2 separate regions of the Homo sapiens genome follow, and region 1 is linked to region 2. The links are contacts of gene promoters, found by promoter capture Hi-C in blood cells and fetal thymus (Javierre and others, 2016). All regions are on one chromosome and are shown on one strand. Each heading gives the region's core, a stretch centred on a gene start or on the middle of the fragment in contact. The rest is flanking DNA. Distances are from core to core; before and after follow the strand shown. Region 1 overlaps FAM222B (family with sequence similarity 222 member B). Region 2 holds the start of RPL23A (ribosomal protein L23a).

The links. The method cuts DNA at HindIII sites, captures the fragments that hold promoters and counts their contacts. A CHiCAGO score of 5 or more calls a contact.
Region 1: a contact is called between a fragment that was not itself captured here and the fragment with the promoter of RPL23A in region 2, in 3 of 17 cell types (naive B cells, megakaryocytes and naive CD4 T cells). The highest score is 5.8, in naive B cells.

The regions. Positions count from the first base shown.
Region 1 is chr17:28,818,015-28,821,510 of GRCh38, reverse strand. The region is part of intron 1 of FAM222B (family with sequence similarity 222 member B); the gene reads left to right. Among named protein-coding and RNA genes, the nearest start is that of FAM222B, 23 kb to the left of the region's middle. The HindIII fragment of the contact is 358 bases long and covers 2,014-2,371 here.
Region 2 is chr17:28,718,694-28,722,292 of GRCh38, reverse strand. RPL23A (ribosomal protein L23a) reads right to left here and starts at 2,308. Exons shown (of 5, transcript NM_000984.6): 1 at 2,263-2,308; 2 at 1,403-1,586. The coding sequence starts at 2,287. SNORD42B (small nucleolar RNA, C/D box 42B) reads right to left here and starts at 1,743; the gene lies at 1,677-1,743. RefSeq lists enhancers at 1,594-1,753, 2,094-2,313, 2,744-2,793, 2,450-3,051, 3,052-3,599. The HindIII fragment of the contact is 1,784 bases long and covers 700-2,483 here.

The DNA.
Region 1 (3,496 bases), core at 943-3,442, 99 kb before region 2:
CTCAGCTGTCAAATGAGGATAACAGGACCATTTTGGCTTGTTGGGTGGTTGTGATGCATGACTACTAATGAAAATAATTGTAAAACACTTTTGCAAGTTAAAGTGTGATATAAATGCTAAATAATAGTTCTTTATTGGGATGTTGTGAAAATAAGCAACATGCTTTTTATTGAGAGGCCTTAAATTCCTTTTGAGGAGGCAATATATTTTTATAAGTACTATTAGATCACTTTAGAATGTTCATATTATTAGAGTTTTGGCCAGGCGCAGTGGCTTACACCTGTAATCCCGCACTTTGGGAGGCCGAGGTGGGTGGATCACGAGGTCAAGAGATCGAGACCATCCTGGCCAATATGGTGAAACCCCGTTTGTACTAAAAATATAAAAATTAGCTGGGTGTGGTGGCGCGTGCCTGTAGTCCCAGCTACTTGGGAGACTGAGGCAGGAGAATCGCTTGAACCCAGGTGGGGGAGGTTGCAGTGAGCCGAGATTGCACTGTTGCACTCCAGCCTGGCAACAGAGCGAGAGTCCATCTCAAAAAAAAAAAAATAAAATAAAAAGAGTTTTACCAGACTGGGTGCAGTGGCTCACTCCTGTAATCCCAGCACTTTGGAGGCTGAGGCAGGTGGATCATTTAAGGTCGTCAGGAGTTTGAAACCAGCCTGGCCAACATGGTGAAAACCCATCTCTACTAAAAATATTTTAAAAAATTAGCTGGGCGTGGTGGCAGGCGCCTGTAATTCCCGCTACTCGGGAGGCCAAGGCACGAGAATTGCTTGAACCCAGGAGGCAGAGGTTGCAGTTATCCGAGATCTTGCCACTGCACTCCAGCCTGGGTGACAGAGCGAGACTTCGCCTCAAAAAAAAAAAAAAAGTTTTACCATTTTTGCTTTTTGGTTCAGATGAGGAATGAATTCCACCTTATGGTACTTGCATTGCTGAATGTTTAAAGGCCTGATGGGAGTGACTTATTGTGTCTATATTTATAGCATCACAGCCAATCAATAGAAACACTCACACACAAAAGACACTGAAAAAACATTTTAACTTGCTATAGGTAACACCTTAAAGACATTTTAATGCAGGATTAGGTGATTGTTGCAGTTAGGCTTTGAAGAGTGACATGGTACCATTTTAGACAAAACTAACACTCCTTGTTCCATACCAGAGTCTAAATATAGAATCAGTGGCATCATTACCTGTAATGTACTTAGGAACTACATTGAAATTTGAATCTGTTGAACTAAATTTTTCTCAGCCTTTTAAGTGACATTAACAATAGAGGAAAATTGGGATGTTGTCTAAAAGCCAAAAAGGGAAAACTGAAATGGTTATGGGATAGTCTGCTGACGTGCTGGGAACTTTACCCTGACACCTCACCTGGGATCGTATATATTGTTTTTAGTATAGGGACCTGTGTGTTGCTAATTTTAGAACAAAGTAACATGAAGTTTTTTTAGCTTTATGCAGGTTGGACTGGAATCTTTTTTTCTGGAATTTGAGTTCTTTCACAATCCATTTACCTTTTTGTATCAAGGACAAGTGAAAGGCTTAGGTTTCTTTTCCTCTTTGATGGGAAGACTGTACTTGCTTTTGCTGGACTCAGGCATTATCTGCTTTTGCATTTGCATTTGGTGACTGCTAAAAGGGTCCTTGAATGACATGCTTTCACAGCAAAGACAGTTGAGTAATTTTATTTTCTTAGAGACGTTTTATTTCTGTGGTTGTAGTAAGACTCCCTGTTATTTGCTTTCATCATCAGCTTTGTTCATTCTAGGCTTAGGGATTGGCTTCAACTGTTTTACATTCATAGGCAAAGGTTCATTTTATATTCATATTTTAGTTCTCTTGGATTTAATTTGTAGCTTATATGTATCCATTATATTGAATAGTTTCCTTCCTAGATTAGGTATTTCATAAAACTTCTAAATATTTTTAGGAATGTATTACTTATGCTTGACATCTTTATCATTATTTTTTTCATTCAAAATAGCCCAAGTTTCTCTGGAAGCTTGCAGTTGGCAGTACTATCAAGACAAAATGCCTTTAGGACTGTATGGAGAAGGCACTTTCCACCACTACCTAACAAAATGGAATATATATATAATTTTTGACTTTATGTATTTCTTCTGTGATTTACTATCTCATATTCTTTGAATATTTTCCCCTTTGGTTATTTGTCTTCCTCTTATTTAGTTATAAGAGTTCTTTGTATATTGTGGCATTCAACTCTTTTTTATGTGATGTTAGTATTCCTTAAGGCTATGAATAAGAAGTGAGAAGGGAGGCTATTGCATTGAATGCTAATCCCAGATGGTGTTTGGTTAAATTGTTTTATTGTTTGCCTTGATTATTTGAGCAATGGTAAGCTTCTTTTGTCTCTTCCTTTCCAAAGATGCATAGAAAAGCTCCTTCTGTCTGAAGTAAAGTGTTGGCTCTGTGTTGGTTATAATTTGCTTTTTCTGGCTTGCACAGCCTTCTTTTTGTTTTCTGTCTTCTGACAGATTATAGGATTGTGGGGAAACAGCGTCCAGGGCTTTTTCAGGAACCGTGCCATTTTATCTACAGGAGAAGCCATTGGCTTTGGCACTAGAAGGGAATTGGCTGTGCATTTAAAGATGCCAAATCATGCTCGATTCACAAGTTTGCTGTCTCATTTTGTCTATGTGTGTGAAACTTTTTCAGGATTTTGGCTTTTTACTTTTTCTACCATGTGCTACCCCATCAGTATGAAAAATTAACAACTTGCCCCTTCTTTCCAGCTCTCTACTCCCAGAACATACAACCCAAACATCCTAAACCATAAATGATGGAGCAGTCATTTTGAAGATTAGGGAAAAATATACCATACAAGTGTTTCCCTTTGGCACCCTTGTCGTGACTTTGAGCTTTAATTCTGGTTTATCAGTCATTCCTATAGAGTCTTGTTATTTTTATTTTTATTTTTATTTTTTATTTTTATTCTTTTTTTTTTTTGAGACGGACTCTCGCTCTGTCGCCCTGGAGACAGGCTGGAGTGCAGTGGCGCGATCTCGGCTGACTGCAAGCTCCGCCTCCCAGGTTCACGCCATTCTCCTGCCTCAGCCTCCCAAGTAGCTGGGACTGCAGGTGCCCACCACCACGCCCAGCTAATTTTTTGTATTTTTAGCAGAGACAGGGTTTCACCGTGTTAGCCCAGATGGTCTCGATCTCCTGACCTCGTGATCCGCCCACCTCGGCCTCCCAAAGTGCTGGGATTACAGGCGTGAGCCACCGCGCCTGGCCTATTTTTATTTTTTTAAAGGCAGGGTCTTGCTCTGTCACTGAGGCTTGGAGTGCTGTGGCACGATCATAGCTCACTATAACCTTGAACTCTTACTCCTGGGCTCAAATGATCCTCCCACCTCAGCCTCCCAAGTAGCTAGAAGTATAAACCACCCCCTACACCCCACCTTCATGCCTTTTAAACTGCATGCAATAGATTTTGAAGCCTAACCAACTAGTTATTTTAGCAAAT
Region 2 (3,599 bases), core at 1,059-3,558:
GCAGGAGAATCGGGCCAGGGGCAAATTCCTTTTTTTTTTTTTTTTTTGAGACAGAGTCTCGCTTCGCCCAGGCTGGAGTGCAGTGACAGGATCTCGGCTCGCTGCAAGCTCCGCCTCCTGGGTTCACACCATTCTCCTGCTTCAGCCTGGGACTCAGTAGTGGGACTAGCGGCGCCTGCCACCACGCCCGGCTAATTTTTTTTGTATTTTTAGTAGAGACGGGGTTTCACCGTGTTAGCCACGATGGTCTCAATCTCCTGACCTCGTGATCCGCCCGCCTCAGCCTCCCAAAGTGCTGGGATTACAGGCTCGAGCCACCGCGCCCGGCCAGCCACGAGCAAATTCTTATGCATAGGTGAGGTTAAGCCACAGCAGTGGCTTAAGCACAACTGTAACACAGCTTTCCCCATTTAAAGTCACACTTGATTCTAGGTCCAGCTTGGTGGCGGGAGGGGCAGGAAGACAGTCTGTGAACTGCTTTCCTATATGAACACAATCCACTTTTTCTGTTAAGAAAGAGTAGAAGCAGCAAAAACCCATTGGTACTAACTACTACCATGGCTCTACTCAAATCTGTGCTCCCTAAAAAGTCAGTTATTACCGATAGCTCAAATACTCAAGTGCCCAACCTTCTGCCCATTCCCCCCCAACTGTTCCTTGAGCAGTATGAAAATTCGGGAAAATGAATGGAAAGAAGCTTCTATACACCGCAGCAGGCCATAACTGCCAAATACAGATAATGGAATCCCCACTATCAATCAAGAATCAATCCACGTTCTCACCCTCAAGGATTGTTCCCGATAGCAGTAGGAGCTATGAGCAAGGAATCTCTGTATTCTACTTTATACTCCCCCCAAAATAAGTTTTCAAACCGTGACCACATGTGAAGCAATAATTAACCTAACAAATTTTGAGAGACTCAGGGTTTTTTTTTTTTTGAGACAGAGTTTCACTCTTATTGCCCAGGCTGGAATGCAATGGTACGATCTCCGCTCACCGCAACCTCCACCTCCCGGGTTCAAGCGATTCTCCTGCCTCAGCCTCCCGCGAGTAGCTGGGATTACAGACATGCGCCACCATGCCCGGCGAATTTTCTATTTTTAATAGACGCGGGGTTTCTCCATGTCACTCAGGCTGGTCTCGAACCCCTGACCTCAAGTGATCCGCCCCCCCTCGGCCTCCCAAAGTGCTGGGATTACAGACGTGAGCCACCGCGCCCGGCCTCTGGGCTGATCCTGCCAGTTTTGTAAATGCAGCAGAAACAATCTCCTCATACTTCCAATTAGAGAAGCACACTGGACACAATTTGCGTTTGAGAAACCATCACGCAGAGTGAGTGAATTTCCAAATTACCAATGGAGAATACCCAAATCTTTTCATGGGTACAGGGGGCAGTACTGACTTGTTTCTCCTGGGAGCGCTCTTCCGAGGATATTTGGGCTGTCTCCGGAGTCGCAGTGTCTTCGGCCGCCGGAAGGTGGGTGACGTGCGGATCTTCTTCTTTTTGTGGCTGTGGACACCTTTCAACACTGCCTTCTTGGCCTTTAAAGCCTTCGCTTTGGCTTCAGCTTTAGGAGGGGCAGGAGCTGGGAGAAAAGGAAAGAAAACGTGGGTGCGGGATTTAGAAATCGGTCACTTCCGGCCCCAAGAACTGCAGTGGGCCACCCTGGCCACAGGTGCATCAGTGGTTCCTTTGAAGACATCACAAGTGTCAGGAGATTAAAACTTTTCCATCATATGCACGATACCAGAGGCGAAAGCGACCAACTCTAAGTAACTCCAGGGATACGACTATGAAACAAAGTAGCACTGAATGAACGCTTGATACTTTCCAGAAAATGTCCTACGAATTTTACACATACCCCATCGCAAAACCACGCTGCGGAGAGAGGGGCGGGTAATGTAGCCCGGTTGAACATGAACCAGAAGGAAAATGGTTAAAGCTGAGGGCACTAATTCCTTACAGGCCCGGGGACATGGAGCTCCAACCAGTGGATGCATGTAGCTTCCCAGAACCGAATGTCTGGCCCTCCCTGGCGGATGATGCCTGCCGCGTTGCCCCCCCCCAACTCCCTCTACCGGAACTCAGCCCACGAGGCTGGGCCCACGCGGCCCACGTATACTGCAGCGTGTCCGAAACGCAGGGAGCAGCCCCGGAGCAGAGCCCTCAGGGCTTAGCCCAGCAGCCGTGTTCCCAATTCGTTCGCTCTGCGGCGCGGCAATCCCCGGTAAACCAGCTGCGGCCCCATCACCAACACACACCTTCCTTCTTCGCTTTCGGCGCCATCTTGTGAAAAGGGTCTCCAATGCTCGTTCCCACGGGCTTATAGCGCCAAAGAGCACTAAAGACTCGCGATGCTTTGTACTTAGAGCTGATTGGGTAATTTGCAGAGCGGCGCCCTCTGGGAACGGTAGTTAGGTTTAATTTCTTTTTCGTGCGTGAACAAACATGCGCCACTCCTCCCCTCAAAGGCACTAAAGCTTCATGGGGGTTGTAGTTTTTTGTTTTTTGTTTTTTGTTTTTTTTTTGAGCGCTCTGTCGCCCAGGCTGGAGTGCAGTGGCGCGATCTCGGCTCACTGTAAGCTCCGCCTCCCGGGTTTACGCCATTCTCCTGCCTCAGCCACCAGAGTAGCTGGGACTACAGGCGCGTGCCACCATGGGGATTGTAGTTTTTTGAAGACACGCGTTTATTTGCTCAGGCCAGCGGACGGCGTAGCCGGCTGGCGCTCGGGTCTGGTCCCGGGAGCTTCCTATCTTGAGCAACTGCCAGTCTCAGGGAAGAGGATTGCCATGCCAGGAGGCAGGAACGCTGCCAAGAGGAAAGAACACATTTGGATTGACTCGGGAGTTAGATACAGCTAAGTTCTAGAGTGCTGGAGCAGGATTTGCTCGGTCGAACTGAGGTCCAGAGAGGAATGTGGTTTATCAATAACACAGTGATTTGGTGGCAGAAAAAAATCAAGTCAGGGCCGGGCGCGGTGACTCACGCCTGTAATCCCAGCACTTTGTGAGGCCGAGGTGGACGAATTGCTTCGAGCCCAGGAGTTCGAGACCACCCTGGGCAACACGGCGAAACCCTGTCTCTACAAAAGAATACAAAAATTAGCCGGGCGTGGTGGTGCGTGCCTGTAGTCCCAGTTCCTTGGGAGGCTGAGGTGGGAGGATCGCTTCAGCCCTGGAGGTCGAGGCTGCAATGAGCCATTCCAGCCTGGGTGGCAGAGTGAGACCCTGTCTCAAAATAAATAAATAAATAAATAAATAAATAATCGAGTCACGAGGGGGAAGTGTCAGAGGAAGTACAAGGCGGCCACACCTGCCCCTCTTTACCTGCGACACTGATACTGTCAAGTTTTACTGCGTTTCCTGATAATGCATTTGAAGTTCTATGAAAATTCCACACATTTCTCCAAGATTCGCTAGTTTTTCCGGTTAGTAACTTCACTCACAATCCCCTGCCCTAAACTAGTCTTCCCTTCCGTGTCCTGGTCATCTTTACATCCTCAAATTCAGCTCCAGACACAGAGAAAGGTTTCTTAACACTCAGGTTCGCTTCTCCTAAGGTGTGTGCCTAACCCATCCCCACTTGATCCTTTCTTCT